Linked DNA regions of Homo sapiens: all the other regions are linked to region 4. Evidence: promoter capture Hi-C in 16 types of primary human blood cells and fetal thymus (Javierre and others, 2016). All regions are on one chromosome and are shown on one strand. Each heading gives the region's core, a stretch centred on a gene start or on the middle of the fragment in contact. The rest is flanking DNA. Distances are from core to core; before and after follow the strand shown.

Region 1 (2,768 bases), core at 85-2,584, 1.2 Mb before region 4:
CATGTTGGGAAACGACAGAAAAAGACCCCGGCCTTCCTCACTCTTCCGGTGGGATGACCCTGAGTCTCCAAGCTCTCATTGCAGTCACTGGCCTGATAATATCTTCCACTCTCTGTCTTCACTCCCTCTCCCCTCCCACTGCTCCCTGGGACTCACCCCCGCCCACCCTCCCCAAACACAAAAGCTTTGCGGTAAAATCACGGTCTCAAGGTCTGCTTTGGGGAGAAAAGAGTCACCTCCTTGAAATCTAGACTTTCTGTGCTTCCAGAAAACATGTTGAAACGTTACCTGTCAATTAAATTCCGGGAAGCCTGGGTGTGTCACACTTTGAATCATGTGGACAGACACCATGAAGAGCCTGGAGTTTGGTGAACTTTGTTGAAACCCCTCCATCACTCTCGTGGTCGAATCCAATCCAATCCTCATGTCCTCATGAGTTCGTTTTCATTTCCTAAATGACATCCATGGAAAAATAATGGGGAGAGAGGAAACACAATTTTACATTTGTATCTGACAGGCTCTGAAAGGGAGCTAGAGAATGTAGTTAGCATCCATAAATTATGGAAGAGGGTATTTCCCATCTTCTTAACACATGCAACACTTCTAAGGGGCCTGCAAAAACCCCAGCAGCCTTTCAATGTCCCCCACATCTTAGCACACATAAATATTTACATCTGTCCTATCAAGAAACAAATATGCATGCATATCATTATTTTGGAGATATAGCGTGAGCACTTTGTTTGCAAGAAAAAAATATGCATGCATATCATTTTGGAGATATAGTGTGAGCACTTATATTTGTTTGCAAGAAACAAATATGCATGTATATCATTATTTTTGGAGATACAGTGAATGCACTTTTCAGTTACATGCTCAAAATGGTATGCTAAACTGAAAGTGGTTGTCATTACCCTTAATTTCTGCAAGGAATAAACAAGTATGTCCTGGTGGCACATTGCTATGAATAAAGCAGACTATTTCAGGGCTATGGGAGTTCTATGGAAAGCGTGAGCCAAAACATGGTTTTTCCTGTGTCTTGTTTATGATGCTTATTCATAATGGGAGGGAACAGAATATTGGCTTCATTCATGTCCTTGATTTATGATGGAATCCATAGGAATCTGCCACCTTGGGTGAATGAGCAATACCTAAAGGAATGTCCTATAAGATACCGAGATATGCCACCCAAAATATGACTTAGGAGACCAAGATACGCCACCCAAAATATGACTTAGGAGACCAAGATTGCGATTTTTATAAAAAGCTCATCAGCAATCATTAGGGTTAGTGGGCTTTTTTGGTTTTTTTTTTGTTTTTGTTTTTGTTTGTTTGTTTGAGACAGAGTCTCACTCTCTGTCACCCAGGCTGGAGTGCAGTGACATGATTTTGGCTCACTGCACACTACAACCTCCATCTCCCAGGCTAAACCAATTCTCGTGCCCCAGCCTCCCGAGTAGCTGGGAGTACAGGTGTGCACCACCGCACCTGGCTAATTTTTGCATTTTCCTTTTAGTAGAGATGGGGTTTCACCGTGTTGACCAGGCTGGTCTCAAACTCCAGGCCTCCAGGAATCCACCTGCCTTGGCCACCCAATGTGTTGGGATTACGGGAAGGAGCCACTGCACCTGGCCAGTGTATGTTTGTAAGGCTCACCCACACTGTAGCATGTGTCAGCACTTGAAACCTTTTTCTGCCTGAATCACATTCCACTGTATGGATATGCCATATTTTGTTAAATCCGTTCATTGGCTGAGGGACGTTTGGGTCACCTTCACTTTTTGGCTATTTTGAGTAGTGCAGCTATCAACATTACGTGTATAAATGTACAAGCTATTTGGTGGACACGTGTTCTCGTTTTTCTCTTGAGTATGTGCCCAGAAGCAGAATTGCTGGCTCATAGGGTGATGTGGTTTGGCTGTGTCCCCACCCAAATCTCATCTTGAATTCCCATGTGTTGTGGGAGGTAATTGAATCATGGGGACAGGTCTTTCCCATGCTGTACTCATGGTAGTGAATAAGTCTCATGAGATCTGATGATTTTATAAAAGGGAGTTTTCCTGCACAAGCTCTCTCTTTGCCTGCTACCATCCATGTAAGACGTGACTTGCTTCTCCTTGCCTTCTGCCATGATTGTGAGGCCTCCCCAGCCACATGGAACTATAAGTTCATTAAACCTCTCTTTCTTCTGTTAGTTGCCCAATTTTGGGTATGTCTTTATCAGCAGTGTGAAAACAAACTACTACATATGGTATGTCTTCGGTTAACCTTTTGAGGAAACATCAGACTCTTCCATCTCTGTATCTTTCCAATTTCAATCTAAACGGACTCAAATCTGACTCTTAGACTCCACTCCCCTGGGAAATGTGATGTCGGCTATTATTGCGGTTCCCTCTCCTCCCTAGAGTCTCCTAAGAATTTGGGTCATGCTCCATTTTCAGACAATTTGAAAATTGGTCTGTTATGGTCTCTGCTCTGAAAAGCTTCATTCTCATCCCACCTCCTGCCCCGGCTTCCAGCAGCCTCCCTTAAAATTCTGGGGATGCAGACATCTGTGCTGAGGCTGAGAAGCCAGGAGCCTGGAGACCAGCGTCCCTGGGCAGGTGCAGTGGAACCAGCTGGCCATGTGCCAAAATTCCTGTGACCCTTCCCTGGTACTGTGCTGTCTTTGCTGAGAGCTGGCCGCCTGCTCAGGGGTCCCTAAGTCTTACACTGGACAACTGGATGAGTGAGAAATAATTATTTAATTGTTAAGCCACAGAAATTCCAGG
Region 2 (2,931 bases), core at 226-2,725, 1.1 Mb before region 4:
ATTCACTACCACAAGAGCAGTATCGGGGAAACCGCCCTCATGATTCAGTTATCTCCCACCTGGTCCCTCCCACACCACGTGGGAAATACGGGAGCTACAATTCAGATGAGATTTGGGTGGGGACAGTCAAACCATATCACCAACATTCTTCCGTGCCCTTAAATTCCAGAGGATTCCTCCAATATGTGTCTATTTTTCCCAAGTCAAGTCTAAACACACTACCTCTAAGGCAAACCTTCACCTAACTAGGCTTAACTCAACAGCTTAACTTTGTTGACATATGTATTTATGGATTTCTAGAAAAAAATTTTTAAAGGAATTTTGTTGTCGTTGTGGTAAAATAACACTATGGAAGGTAACCCAGGCATGGATATGTGATGAAATATAAGAAAAAAATAACTCTATCACCCAGGCTGGGTGCAGTGGCTCATGCCTATAACCCCAGTGCTTTGGGAGGCCAAGGTGGGAAGATTGCTTGAGCCCAGGAGTTCAAGACCAGCCTGGGCAACATAGTGAGAACCCCCAGCTCTACAAAAAATAAAAAAATTTAGCTGAGTATGGTGAGTGCTTGTCTATAGTTCCAGCCACTCAGGAGGCCGAGATGGAAAGACAAACTGACCCCAGGGGTTTGAGGCTGCAGTAAGGTGTGAGTGTGCCACTGCACTCCAGCCTGGGTGATAGAGCAAGACCCTGTCGAGAAGGAAGGAAGGGAGGGAGGGAGGGAAGAAAGAAGGAAAGAGAGGGTGAGAGAGAGAGAGGAAGGGAGGAAGAGAGTGAGGAAAAAGGAAAGGGGAGGAGAGGAGAGGAAATGGGAGGGAAGCGAAGACTAACCTACAATGTCTGGGGGAATAACAGACACACTGTGTGTAAGATGCCAATAAAAGTGCTAAATACCACATTTTTCATGGGAAAATAATTATTAGAGTAATTCCACCAATTTTAAAGTGAAGCGTTGACATGTATCGCACATCACAAAAATCACATTTAGTATTTATTGAACACTTACTGCATACAATCATTATGGTTGATATTTCACAGAATATCACTTACGTAATTTCAAAAACCTCACGTTTACAATGTTATCTCCGTGTCAGGGAGGATGACACAGGACCCAAGAGGATCAAAAATATGCAGATTCCCCAGAAACTCATGCTGGAAAGATTGCATTTTTATTATGATGATTGTATTCATTTCTTTTAAATAATGATATTTGAATGCAGTGATATTTTAAACACTGGGTGATCTGTGATGCTTCTCCTATAAACTTGTTTCACAGAAAACCAGCTTACCCAGGTATAGGCTCAGTTTTTAGAGTATTGCAGTCAGCACAGTTTCTGAAGACAGAATCAATCTGGGACACTTCTGCATTGAATAAAAGATGAACTGACATGTCGCCTCTGCTATCAGAGTCTCCTTGGGCGAAATAGTGAATCAGGGCATGTTGAACGAACATAGGTCTTTTGGGGCTCTGTAATGCTGCCTGCTGCTATAATATTTACAGATTCTCATGCATAGAGTTAGAAGAGATTGAGGAGATCGTTGGAGGGTTTTTGTTTGTTTGTTTTTTGTTTTTGTTTTTGTTTTGACACAGAGTCTTGCTTTGTCTCTAGGCTGGAGTACAACGGCACGATCTCAGCTGACTACAATCTCCACCTCCGGATTCAAGCGATTCTCCTGCCTCAGCCTCCCGAGTAGCTGGGACTACAGGTACACACCACCACACATGGCTAATTTTTGTATTTTTAGTAGAGATGGGGTTTCACCTTGTTGGCCAGGCTGGTCTCAAACTCCTGACCTCAGGTGATCCACCTGCCTCAGCCTCCCAAAGTGCTGGGATTACAGGGCATGAACCACTGTGCCCGGCCCTTTGAGGGGTTTTTAATCTGTAGTTTATTGAGAGGAACTTGAATCTTAATCTTGATTCTTTAACAGAGTGCAATTTGACATTTAATGTCGATTTAAGTTACATTTTTTGTTTCAGAATGATTTCAGATTTGCAGAAAAGTTTCAAACATACCACAAGGAGCTCTTTTATACCCCCGTCATAAACATCTTCAATTAGTACGGTGCATTTGTGGCAATTAACCAACCACTCTTGATACATTACTATTAACCAGCCCATACCCTATTCAGATTTCTTTAGTTTTTTTCTAATGTTTAGGATCCCATCCAGGGTCTGTCAGTCAAGAAAATTAGAAGACAATTGTCAATCATTTTAGGAAGTTTATTTGCCAAAGTTAAGGATGCGCACCTGTGACACAGCCTCATGGGGTCCTGATGACATGTGCCCTAGGTGGTCGGGGCACAGCTTGGTTTTATACATTTTAGGCACACATGAGCCATCAATCAATATATGTAAGAAGTCCATTGGTTCCTTCCAGAAAGGCGGGGACAACTGGAAGCAGAGAGGGAGCTTCCAGGTCACAGGTAGGTGGGAAACATATGGTTGCTTCTTTTGAGTTTCTGATTAGCCTCTCCAAAGGAGGCAATTAGAATATGCGTCTATCTCAGTAAGCAGAGGGGTGACCTTGAATAAAATGAGAGGCCGATTTGCCCTGGGCACTTCCCAGCTTGTCGGGGCCCGGGTTAGTTTCCTTTCACAGGCCCCACAGTTCCACAGGGTGTTTAGTTATTACTTCTACCTGGGTTCCCTCTTGGCTGGGACAGTTTTCCAGACGTTTCTTGATTCAGATGAATGACCTGGACAGCTTTGAAAAGCACTGGGCAAGCCTTTTGACGGAAGTCCTTTTATTGGGATTTTTCTCATGTTTTCTTTCTTTTTCTTTGAGATGGAGTCTCACTCTGTCGCCTAGGTTGGAGTGCAGTGGCGCAGTCTCGGCTGACTGCAACCTCTGCCTCCCGCGTTCACGCCATTCTCCTGCCTCAGCCTCCTGAGTAGCTGGGACTACAGGTGCCCGCCACCATGCCCAC
Region 3 (2,769 bases), core at 47-2,546, 1.1 Mb before region 4:
GAACTGGGGTGTGGGGTCCGTGCTTGGGGCAGGTTCTGTGGTGTCAGTACGAATTAGGGTGTGGGGTCCATGGTCCTTACAGCTGTTCAGAGTCCTCTGTGGGAGTCCTGGTCCATAATCCTGGCATGGCTCTGGGTGGTTGTCTGGGGTTCCCTATGGGGTCCAAGTCCTTGTGGTCCCTGCTGAGGTCTGCGTGGGGTTACATGATTCTGGCTAAGATGGGGAGGGTGGTTCCCGTGGTGGTCCTGGTCCCCTGCAGGGTCTGGGTAGGGGATCTGTGATCCCATGGTGGGGGTCCTGGCTGGGGCTTGAATGGGGTTCCATGGTCTTGGCTGGAGTGTGGGGTCTTGGAGAGGCAGTCCAGCTGGGGTCTGTAGTCCTGGGGGGCGTCCTGGCAGGGGTCTGTGGTCTTGTGGGGTGCTGGCTGGGGCCTGTGGTCCGGGGGGTGGTTGTGATGGAGGTGGAGGTCCTAGAAGGGGGCCCCAGTAGGGGTCTGTGATCCTGGAGAGGGGTCCTGGTGGTGGGGGTCCCAGTGGAGGTCTGTGGTCCTGGGGGGCCCTGGGAGGATCTGTGGTACTGGGGAGTCCTGGTGGAGGTCTGTAGTCCTGGTGGGGTTCTTGGTGGGGTGTCTGGGCGTGCCCCAGTGGGGGGGCCTGTGGTCTTGGGGGTCCCAGCAGGGGTCTGGGGTCCTGGGGGGTGTTCTTGGGAGGAGTCTATGGATCTGACTTGGGTGCTGGCTGGGGTCTGTAGTCCTGGGGGCGTCCTGGCTGGGGCTGTTGGTCTTGTGGTGGTGGGGATCCCTGCTGGGGTCTGCAGTCCTGCCGGGAGGGGGAAGGGTCCCTGCTGGGGTCTGTGGTCCTGGAGGAGGTGTGGAGGGTCCCTGCTGGGGTCTGTGGTCCTGGGGGGGATTCCTGGCTGGGGTCTGTGGTCCTGGCTGGGGGTGTGTGTGGGGGGTCCCTGCTGGGGTCTGTGGTCCTGAAGGGGGGGTCCTGACTGGGGTCAGTGGTCCTGGGGGCGTCCTGGCTGGGGTCTGTGGTCCTGGGGGGGGGGGTCCTGGCTGAAGTCTATGGTCCTTGCAGGGGGGGGTTCCTGGCTGGAGTCTGTGGTCCTGGGGGGGGTGTCCTGGCTGGGGTCGGTTGTCCGCTCGGGGTCCCCAGTCCTGCAGGCGGTGCGGGATCCCAGAGGGCCCGGGCGGGGTCTGGGGTTGGGGGTTCCCCGCAGGCCGGGGCGGTTCGGGGCGGGCAGGGGGCGGTCCGGGGCGCGCGCGTTTCCGCCGTCCGTCCGGGCGGGCGGGCGCAGAGTCCCGCGGGCGGCGCGGAAGCGGCGGCGGCGCGGCCGGGGCAGCCATGTCGCCATTGTCTGCGGCGCGGGCGGCCCTGCGGGTCTACGCGGTAGGCGCCGCGGTGATCCTGGCGCAGCTGCTGCGGCGCTGCCGCGGGGGCTTCCTGGAGCCAGGTCAGCGGGGCGGGGCAGGGGTCAGGGCTCCGGGGACCCGGGTGGGCGCGGGCTGGCTCGGGGGCGGGGGCGCGGGGGCTCCGCGTGACCTTGGCGAGGCGGTGGCGCTCCCGGAAGTGGGGCTGGGCGGGGGTCGAGGTGTGGCCGGGGGTGGGGGGGGGGCGGCGTGCGCGCTGGGACCTCCCCGCCCCGCGCTTTCCGTCCCCGCCGGCTCTTCTGCGCGCCTGGCCCGGCCCGACCCGGCCCGACCCTTCCCTCCCCGCGCGTGTGGCCTCCCCGCCTGTCCCGGGTCGGGCTCCAACCAAGCAGCCCCCGTGCAGCCGCCCCCCCGCGCACCCTGACACCTCCGGGCCATGGCCGGGGACCCGGGGGCTCGCACGCCCCGCGCCCAAGACATCAGGCGGCTCTGCCTGCCGCCTGCGGTCGGCCAGTGACCGCGCGCCCCCGCCAGGCCCCGGAGGGGAGGAGCGGGCGTCCCAGGGACCTCGACCCCTACCCACCCCAGGGTAAGTGAGGATGGGCCCTTCTCCGGAGGACGTCTCCAGAGGGGGCCCAGAGGCGGCTTCTCGGGCACTGGGGAGCCACGGAGGTCTGGTGGGGAGGGCAGGCCCGTTAAGTGGCAACTTTGTTTCCTTGGCCTTTGTAAACATCTCTGAGTCACAGATCTCCAACTTTGCAGGACTCGTTCACTGTCTGAACTCATCAGTGATGACCGCCACTGTGTTTTGTGTATGCAGATAACTTCTGTTCCTAGATTTGCAGGTTCAGAATTTATTATTATTATTATTTTTTGTAATAGGAAGTAGAGATGAAGTCTTGCTCTGTTGCCGAGGCTACTCTCGAACTCCTGGGCTCAAGCAGTCCTCCTGCCTCAGCCTCCCAAAGTGCTGGCATTACAGGCACCAGCTACTGCATCCGACTAATGTTTTAAAGTTTTGTAGACGGGGTCTTGCTATGTTGCTCAGGCTGGTCTCGAACTCCTGGGCTCAAGCGATCTTCCTTCCTTTGCCTCCCAAACTGTTGGGATTACAGGTGTGAGCCACCACACCTGTCTAATGTTTTAATTTTTTTGTGTAGCAATAGGGTCTTGCTACGTTGCCCAGGCTGGTCTGAAACTCATGGGCCGAAGCAATCCTCCTACCTGGGTCCCCCAAAGTGCTGGGTTTACAGGCGTGAGCCACCACGCCTGGCTAATGTTTTAAATTTTTTGTAGAGATGGCATCTCACCATGTTGCCCAGGCTGGTCTTGAACCCCTGGCCTGCAGCAATCCTCCAGTCTGGGCCTCCCAAACTGCTGGGATTACAGACAGAGCG
Region 4 (2,966 bases), core at 104-2,603:
CTGCGGTTGTAGGGAGCTCAGCGCATCCACGTTTCCCCCGTGCTCCGCTCCCAGCTGCTGTTCCCGGCCTGTGTCCCGACCCTCAGACCTCAGTTCACCCTCTGGTGCCCACACAGCCCCCTTTCCTCCCTGGCCCCTCCACCAGGGAATGGCTGGGCCAACCTGGGGCTGGGCTGGGGTGGAGCCCTTTAACTCACAGCCTTGACCTTAGGAGGCACTGAGGTTCAGGAGGCATCTGCAAAGCGAGAACCGGAGCAGGCCTAGGTGCTGTTTTCACGGCGCGTGCACCCAGCTTACCTGTTCCTGGGCTGGGCGTCAGTCTCCTATATTTCAGCTGTTTTCCTTTTTCTGAGACAGACTCTGGAGTTTAGCTCTTCTTACCCAGACTGGAGTACAATAATGCAATCTCGGCTCACTGCAACCTCCGCCTCCTGGGCAGTCTATTTCAAGGTGCAAACTCCGCCTCCTGGGCGGCCTATTTCAAGGTGGAAGCCCCACCTTCTAGGCCTATTTCAAGGTGCAAGCCCCGCCTCCCGGGCGGCCTATTACAAGGTGCAAGCTCCGCCTCCCAGGCGGCCTGTTTCAAGGTGCAACCCCACCTCCCGGGCGGCCTATTTCAAGGGGCAAGCCCTGCCTCCTGGGCGGCCTATATCAAGGTGCGAGCTCTGCCTCCCAGGCAGCCTATTTCAAGGTGCAACCCCGCCTCCTGGGCGGCCTATTTCAAGGGGCAAGCCCCGCCTCCTGGGTGGCCTATTTCAAGGTGCAACCCCGCCTTCTGGGCGGCCTATTTCAAGGTGCAAGCCCCGCCTCCCGGGCGGCCTATTTCAAGGCGCAAGCTCCGCCTCCTAGCCCAATTTCAAGGTGCACCCTCTGCCTCCTGGGCGGCCTATTTCAAGGTGCTCACTGCACAGATGGGAGTGGTTTTCTGCAATGGTCACGGATGATCTCAATAACACCAAAGTCACATGCTGCTCCACCCTTACAGTGGCCTGGTATCACAAAAGAATGTGTAGGTTGCTTTGTGCTTTAAGAAAACAGCTGAAATAGGCTGGGTGCAGTGGCTCACGCCTGTCATCCCAGCACTTTGGGAGGCTGAGGTGGGCGGATCACCTGTGGTCAGGAATTCGAGACCAGCCTGGCCAACAGAGTGAAATCCTGTCTCTACACAAAATACAAACACTAGCCGGGCATAGTGGCAGGAGCCTATAATCCCAGCTACAGGGGGGAGGCTGAGACAGGAGGATGGCTTGAACCCAGTAGGTGGAGGTTGCAGTGAGCCGAGATTGTGCCACTGCACTCCAGCCTGGGCGACAGAGTGAGACTCCGTCTAAATAAATAAATAAAAGAAAACAAAACTGATCTCTATATATTTTATGTAATATAAATTATGTGTTCCATAAATTCTGTAAATTATGTGTTCTATCCGTGTACAGGCACGTGTGTAGAGGTGTGAGTGTTCAGGTGTGTATACATACACATACACACCCATCTGTGCGCACACACACACACACACACACACAGTCACGTGTGTCACTGAATGACAGGGACCTGTTTCGGGAAATGCATCCTTAGGCAATTCTCTTTGTGTGCCCATCACGGGGTGCACTCACACATACCGCCGTGGCACATACAGCCTGCTACTCACCTGGGCTGTGCGGCAGGGCCCCAGGCTCCCGGGCTACAAACCTGGACAGCAGGTGAGTGTGCCCAGTGCTGCAGGCTGCTGTAATACAATGGTAGGGATTTGTGTGTCTACAAATAAAGGCACACGAAAACTACTGTATTACCATCTCCTGGGACCTCCGCTGTCTAGGAAGGCCGTTGTTGACTGAAGGGTTGTTACCTGGCACAGGTGACTGTGTATAATTCTGGACAGACTCCGTTTTTTTTTTGGTCTGTTTTTTTCTTTTTTGAGACAGAATCTCACTCTGTTGCCCAGGCTGGAGTGCAATGGCACGATCTTGGCTCACTACAACCTCCACCTCCCGGGATCAAGTAGTTATCCTGTCTCAGCCTCCTGAGTAGCTGGGATTACAGGCACCCACCACCATGCCCGCCTAATTTTTGTGTTTTTAGTAGAGATGGGGTTTCACCATGTTGGCCAGGTTGGTCTGGAACTCCCGACCTCAGGTAATCCGCCCACCTTGGCCTCCCAAAGTGCTGGGATTACAGGCACGCACCACCAAACCCAGCTAATTTTTGTATTTTTAGTAGAGACGGGGTTTCACCATGTTGGCCAGGGTGGTCTAGAACTCCTAACCTCAGGTGATCCGCCCACCTCGGCCTCCCACAGTGCAGGGATTACGGGCATGCGCCACCACACGCGGCTAATTTTTCTATTTTTAGTAGAGACGGGGTTTCACCATGTTGGCCAGGCTGGTCTCGAACTCCTGACCTCAGGTGATCTGCCCACCTCGGCCTCCTAAAGTGCTGGCATTGCAGGCGTGAGCCACCGTGCCCGGCCTGACTCATTTTTTTTTTTTTTTTACAATCACACATGGTGTCTCCATGGGAGGCCTAGATGAAACAAGAAGAAAATTTGGCTTTGATGATGAAAGGGGGAGTCCAGTGCGGTGGCGCATGCCTGTGGCCCTCACCGCGTGGCAATCAAGAAGGATGAGGCTTCCAGGCCCCTCCATCACACTGGCCTCAGCGTGGGGCCAGGCAGGACCTGACAGCCACCAGGAGATGCCACGGAGCCCAGCCCTGCAGAGCAGCCAGGCCTCTGTCCCTCCTACCTCCCTCCTCCCTCCCTTCCCACGTCAGCCTGGCCCGTAACTGTCCCTCCTTCCTCCCTTCCCACATCAGCCTGGCCCAGAGCTGGGGCGACAGCATCCCGGTCACCTCGGGCTGCCCCAGCCAAACTCCTCTGTCCTGTTCTGAGAAAGCAGGCAAAGTCCCTGCCTACAGGGTTCCCCCACGTACCTGCAGGACACCGTCTGTCTTACGGCACGAAGCCCAGGGCC
Region 5 (2,946 bases), core at 445-2,944, 1.2 Mb before region 4:
CTGCCTGAATTCCAAAGTAAGAGCTGCAGTTAGGACGGGCACGGTGGCTCACGCATGTAATCGCAGCACTTTGGGAGGCCGAGGGAGGCGGATCACCTGAGGTTGGGAGTTCGAGACCAGCCTGACCAACACGGAGAAACCCCATCTCTACTAAAAATATGAAATTAGCTGGGCATGGTGGTGCATGCCTGTAATCCCAGCTATTCAGGAGGCTGAAGTGGGAGAATCGCTTGAACCCAGGAGGCGGGGGTTGCGGTGAGCCGAGATCACACCATTGCACTCCAGCCTGGGTGACAAGAGCGAAACTCCATCTCAAAAAAAAAAAAAAAACAGAGTTGCAGTCACTCGAATCTTCTGTCCTTAGTTGGTTGCATGTTTCTCCAAGTTACGTGGTTCCGTAGATGTTGAGATGTTTGTGCATCCATGTCCCCTTCGACTTTGGTCCTTTGTTTCTGACAGGGGCTGTATGGTTGACTCCAATGACCAATCATCAAATTTCCATTATGCCAAAGTTGCGTGTGCACGTGTGTGTGTGTAACTCTATGTGAGTATGTACGTGTGTATGTGGGTATCTGTGTGCATGTGCATATCCCTGTGTATGTGTGTTTGTGTATATGTGTTTGTGTATGTGTGTAGGTGTAAGTATGCATGTATGTTTGGTATGTATGTACATGTGTATCTGTGTATGTATGTGTGTATGTATTTGTGTGCATGTGTGTATATCTCTGTATGTGTTTGTGTATGTGTGTGTATAGGTGTAAGTATGAATGTATGTTTGGTATGTATGAATATGCATATCTGTGTGTACGTGTGTATATCTGCAGGCTTGTGGATATGTGTGCATGCATGTGTTATGTGTGTATATGTGTATGCACATATCTGTGTATGTTTGTATGTATACCTGTGCATGTATGTTATGTATGTGTATATCTGTATGGTTTCTGTGCATAGGTATATGTGTCTATGTGTGTGTGTCCGCATACATGTGAATGTGTGTCTGTGTATGTGTCTATATTTGTGCATGTATGTGTTTATCTGTGTATACATGTGCATGTATGTATCTGTACGGATGTAACTGTGTATATGCACGTGTATGTGTGGTATATGTGAATGTGATTGTGTATACACAAGGCTTTAAAACTTAGTGCAATAGAACCTTTGTGAAGAACCATGGGGAAACAATTGTGCTTCCTATTGGTACCAGAGAGAAAGAGGAAGAACATTTTATAAAACTCTCTTTTGTTAGTTTTCATCGTATAATGGTAGGAAGAAATATGGCATGAAGGACAGTTTTGTACATGCTGCAGTAATTTCTACCCACCCAGGAGAAACCTGGGACCACATAAATCTCAAAGATAACCAAGGAAATATCTGACTCATATTTTAGACACTGACCAAAGAAGAAAACCTTAACAATTTTATAAGCTCTTCAATGCATCTCTAGTGTATATTAATGGTTTTTATGCTTATATGCCTGATAACAAAAACTATCGTAAGAGACTGCAAAAATCTCACCCTTGCAAAGAAAAATACTTCCACGAGGACATCTGCCCAAAAACTGGCTGTCCAAACTCAGACTGGTGTCACCATGTTATTGATCTTTTTAGCCAAGGATAATCATTTGAAAAGAATTATGGAATCCTCTTCATTATTTCCTTTAAAATCCTTTTTTCCCCTTTACCTCCCTGAATATGAACACAGTTTAATATGGCACATCTATTCTCAGCGCACTACTATACTCCCAAATAAACATCTTTTCTATTACAGAGTGTATTAGTCAGTCCTTACGCTGCTATAAAGAAATACCTGAGACAGGGTAATTTTATAAAGAAAAAGAGGTTTAAATTGGCTCACGGTTCCACAGGCAGTACAGGAAGCACGGCTGGGGAGGCCTCAGGAAATTTACAATCATGGCGGAAGGCAGAGGGGAAACAGGCACATCTTACATGGCCACAGCAGGAGCAGGACGGGGTGGGGAAGTTGTTGCACCCTTTAAACAACCAGATTGGATGATAACTCACTTCCGCCACAACAGCACCATGGGGGACAGTGGTAAACCATTCAATGGAAACCACCCGCATAATGCAGTCACCTCCCACCAGGCGCCACCTCCAAACCGGGGATTCCAACTCAACCTAAGATGTGGTGGGGAACCAGATCCAAACCATCTCTTTGTTGACACCAATACTTAGGTTGACACCAATACTCTGTATCTGTTTCATCCAATTTTATTCTTTTTCATAAAAGCAATGCAGTAAAGATAAAACTAAATGTGGACCCTGGGAACAAGGAGTCCAGAGGTTGCCCAAAGAGTCGCAAAGTGCATCAGGAAACCTGAATGTGAAGATCGGTGACCGAGAGCCTGATGCCAGCCTCCTCTTGGGTCTTGACTGAAATCTTCCCAGGTTGCTATTGGATTTTGCATGTACGAGCCTCCATCAGAGGATAGACTTAGGCATATGGTTTGCCCAGTGAATTGAAGAATCTCCAGAGTTTATGAATTGAAGAGTGGGATGAATACAATACACAGAGCACCGAAGCAAACACATCAGAATCGAGGCAACTCCCCTGGGAGAAAAAATGGAAACCTTGAGCTGAATAGTTCAAAACAGGTTGTCACAAACTGGGCATCTTGGGGACCTTTTACCCCCAAGAACTGGAATCTGGAAAGATCTCTGCCTGTTTACCATGATTTATTTTTCCTGGGAGGTATAAATTCCCAGTGCCCTCCCCTCTATCGTACTGTGGAGGGTATTAGCTCAGTTTTTCAATGTTTAAACAGGTAGCACCAAAAAGCGTCTTCTCAATGCTTCCCACGCTATTCCACGTGGACGTTTGGCTTACAGTTTACTTGCATTTTACCCACTTTTTATCTGTCATCTAATATGTCAATCAATTGCCTATTAATCATCTCTCTCTCAAAATATCTTCTATCATTCATATATC
Region 6 (3,220 bases), core at 549-3,048, 1.2 Mb before region 4:
TCTTCTCAGAAACATTAAGAAATGAAGAGAAAACAATTGGAAGTTCACAAGGGTTCATCATTCAGTGGAGAGTAAGAGAGAATGCACAAAAATGTTGCTATAGTTCAGAAACAGAGAGACAAATAGCGCACATAAAATCGTACTCACCAAAACAAATCAATACTGACGGGAAAACACCTTAGAAATCCATTTAAATAAATCACCAGGAGAAAAAGGCACACAGAAGAATCTGCTCGATTTTACAAATATTTTAGCACTCTATAAATCAATTCATAGTTGTAAGTAATGCAAATGAAAAGAAAAAGATGGTTTTCTTTTTCCCAAGAAGGAAGAGAGACAGTGATAAAATGGTTCTGTTAAAAGGAAAAATGTGTTACACAAAGGTGGAAACTCACACAAACCTAAGACAACATAAAAAAGAAAAATTCAAGCCTTGCTTATAAAAGCTTCTGTTCAAAATGTTTTCAGAGGCAACAATAAAGTGGAAACACATTTTCATAATATATTGGGCAATGTTTACTGTCTATAAATAATTCAAAAATGACTAGAAATCAGGGAGGACATACCAGAATAGAAGAATAAAAGACACAGTATCCCATACACAGAAGAAGAAGTCTCCATGGCCCACTGATGCATTGTTTTTGTTTCAAGTTTCAGAATTAAAGACGTGAAACTAAGACAAGGTTAGCATGACATTTTGCACTACTGGATAAAGATGTTTTGGTGAACACCAATATCGGAGACGGTGTGAGGAAAGGGTCATCTGCACACCCCGCCGCCATCAAAATAAATTGGTGCAATTCTGGGGCAATTTCAAAACCATGTCAGAAGCTACAAAAGTACTCACACACATCGATGTAAACAACTTGCACTCTAGAAATATATCTTCAAACATAAAGGAAAGTGCATGAAGGGCAGTCAAATTTGCTTTGTAATTGATAATTCCAAAACATCAGAAGAAACATAACTTCAGAATTAGGGATTACTTAAAGAAACCAAAGTATGTAATTAAGTCTGTAGTATAATAATGTAAAGTCGTATGATACAAACGATTAAATGACATGAGAAAATGGTCAAGGAATATTCTTATGCCAATAATAACATAACCAGCAAAAAACCATAAAAATGTCAACAGGATTTAGACCATCTGGATAGATTTCTGTGTTAAAAATTAAACAAACATGTAAAGAAAAACACTCAGTAAAAATCTAATTGTTTAAAACAAGTTGGCTTCTCCATGGGAAACACACAGATTCTTTTCCTCATATCAAGTCTACATCTAAAAGCTCTTATTCAATGATTTGGAAGTTCCATTTATCTTTGAAGTAAAATCAAGAAAAGGAAAATAAAATCCAAACCAAAAACATATTTTCGTAATCTAGGTTTTCCACTACTTGAACACTGGAATTACCTTGTAATTCAACAGTAGGAACAGGCTCACCTGAAATCTCCTCTTCTCAGATGACACGGACATCACTGCCAGGTAAACAACATAGAGACCACCCCGTAGGGTTAGAGGCTCTTATCAGTGAAACCAGGTCAGTTGGGATTTGGATCTGGCTTTGGTTTGGGGGGATTAGGTGGTGCTGGGTCACCTGTTTGTAAAACATGAGAGTTGGCGATCATCAGTGCCTTGCAGTCAAGAAAATGAAAAATCAATTTCCATGGCGACCAGAAAAGGAAATGAAAAATCAATTTGCATAGAGACCTTTCACTAAACAGGTAAAAAATGACCCTTGTTTTTGTCGTGGTGGGGATGCCCATACACATAGCCTCCTGCCAATTCCCTTCCATCATCTTCCAGCTACAGGATTTAACTTCAAGTATTTTCAAAGAAAACTAAGCCAGGTGTCCAGACCACCTCCAGAATTTGAGAGGCCCTGCACAAAATGAAAATGCAAGATTCTGTTCCAATTTTATGACGAATTTCAAGATGGCAGCTACTGAGTAATACACCAATATGGTGCCCTTGTATGCACAGGTCCCTGTGTGACATCACATGTCACATGCCCATGAAGTCTGACCTGGCCAGGGAAGTGACATTTGCCTTATATCATTCCAAAGTCTGTAACAATTTTAAAATAAAAGCCAGCATATTGGTGGGAAAAAAAACAAAAATCCAACAACAACAAAAATAAAACACAACAAGGCATATACTTCCAATATTTCCACTGTATAAACCCAATCCATGGATTATGCAAAAGAGATAAGTCTCTTGGAAATGACAGTCATTTGGTGACAATAACAAATCAGCAACAGAGGAGACTTTAACGAGTTACTCACTGTTTCCTCCCTCACCAAAGGCATCTGCTAAGTCAAAGTCTGCCCCTAAAGGAAGGAATCGGTCTGTTCATAGTAAAGCTCTGAGAAATGAGGAAGGAATGACCTCGGAAACAGATGGAGAAATCACCAGAGACCCACATGACTAAAGACTTTTCTGAATATCACACTGACTAGGATCTCATTTGAAAAAGTAAATTCCTGATCATTTTCACATCATTCTTCCCCCAGATGAAAAGAGTAAGAGATGACAGCAAGAGAAAGAGGGAGAGAGAAAGAATGTCATTTGTAAATCAACTGTGCTGCCTGGACCCAGTTGGGACTCTGAATCTGCCTGCACACAACTCTGTCCCGTTGATTCCCCATTATCTCCTCCCAGGTCCCCAACACCTTCAGCAAGGCAGACCGTAAGAGGTAGGGCAGGTGACTGTGATCTGATCTGTGACTGACGGATTCTGATCTGTGTCTGAAAAGTGGCTCTACCCACCCAGCTGGGCTCCACAAACTAATGTGACATTCATGCTAGTTTCAAAGCCAGCCTTCTAGTTCTTTTTTTTTTTTTTTTTCATATGGAGTTTTGTCCTTTTGCCTGGCTGGAGTGCAGTGGTGTGATCTCGGCTCACTGCAACCTCTGCCTCCCGGGTTCAAGCCATTCTCCTGCCTCAGCCTCCCGAGTAGCTGGGATTACAGGCATGCACCACCATGCCAGGATAATTTTTGTATTTTTAGCAGAGGCAGGGTTTCTCCATGTTGGTCAGGCTGGTCTTGAACTCCTGACCTCAAGTGATCCAGCCGCCTTGGCCTCCTAAGGTGCTGGGATTACAGGTGTGAGCCACCTTACCTGGCCCAGCCTTCTAGTTCCAAGCTTTTCAAATCCCAATTAAGGTCGAGGCACATTTTATATTGGGAGTGATAAGGGAGGCTCAAATGAAAGAAACAT

The links. The method cuts DNA at HindIII sites, captures the fragments that hold promoters and counts their contacts. A CHiCAGO score of 5 or more calls a contact.
Region 1: a fragment that was not itself captured here is called in contact with the fragment with the promoter of ASMTL-AS1 in region 4 in 3 of 17 cell types (activated CD4 T cells, total CD4 T cells and naive CD4 T cells); the score reaches 7.9 in activated CD4 T cells.
Region 2: a contact is called between a fragment that was not itself captured here and the fragment with the promoter of ASMTL-AS1 in region 4, in 1 of 17 cell types (total B cells). The highest score is 6.3, in total B cells.
Region 3: a contact is called between the fragment with the promoter of DHRSX here and the fragment with the promoter of ASMTL-AS1 in region 4, in 6 of 17 cell types (naive CD8 T cells, total B cells, activated CD4 T cells and 3 more). The highest score is 13.5, in naive CD8 T cells.
Region 5: a fragment that was not itself captured here is called in contact with the fragment with the promoter of ASMTL-AS1 in region 4 in 1 of 17 cell types (naive CD8 T cells); the score reaches 5.6 in naive CD8 T cells.
Region 6: a contact is called between a fragment that was not itself captured here and the fragment with the promoter of ASMTL-AS1 in region 4, in 2 of 17 cell types (naive CD4 T cells and total B cells). The highest score is 6.0, in naive CD4 T cells.

Annotation. Positions count from the first base shown.
Region 1 is chrX:2,594,574-2,597,341 of GRCh38, reverse strand. All of the region lies in intron 1 of LINC03112 (long intergenic non-protein coding RNA 3112), which reads left to right. Among named protein-coding and RNA genes, the nearest start is that of LINC03112, 13 kb to the left of the region's middle. The HindIII fragment of the contact is 2,296 bases long and covers 187-2,482 here.
Region 2 is chrX:2,523,629-2,526,559 of GRCh38, reverse strand. No RefSeq gene overlaps it. Among named protein-coding and RNA genes, the nearest start is that of ZBED1, 24 kb to the right of the region's middle. The HindIII fragment of the contact is 8,308 bases long and covers 1-2,931 here.
Region 3 is chrX:2,499,503-2,502,271 of GRCh38, reverse strand. It overlaps DHRSX (dehydrogenase/reductase X-linked), which reads left to right and starts at 1,296. Exons shown (of 7, transcript NM_145177.3): 1 at 1,296-1,455. The coding sequence starts at 1,347. It overlaps ZBED1 (zinc finger BED-type containing 1), which reads left to right and starts at 1,296. Exons shown (of 2, transcript NM_001171136.2): 1 at 1,296-1,455. The HindIII fragment of the contact is 4,150 bases long and covers 1-2,769 here.
Region 4 is chrX:1,398,918-1,401,883 of GRCh38, reverse strand. It overlaps ASMTL-AS1 (ASMTL antisense RNA 1), which reads right to left and starts at 1,353. Exons shown (of 6, transcript NR_026711.1): 1 at 1,298-1,353; 2 at 1-422. It overlaps LINC00106 (long intergenic non-protein coding RNA 106), which reads right to left. Exons shown (of 3, transcript NR_130733.1): 2 at 2,926-2,966; 3 at 2,472-2,517. The HindIII fragment of the contact is 21,745 bases long and covers 1-2,966 here.
Region 5 is chrX:2,637,596-2,640,541 of GRCh38, reverse strand. It overlaps the pseudogene CD99P1. Among named protein-coding and RNA genes, the nearest start is that of LINC00102, 24 kb to the right of the region's middle. The HindIII fragment of the contact is 6,491 bases long and covers 1-2,946 here.
Region 6 is chrX:2,614,191-2,617,410 of GRCh38, reverse strand. LINC00102 (long intergenic non-protein coding RNA 102) reads left to right here and starts at 2,064. Exons shown (of 2, transcript NR_037842.1): 1 at 2,064-2,694. It also overlaps the pseudogene CD99P1. The HindIII fragment of the contact is 2,699 bases long and covers 449-3,147 here.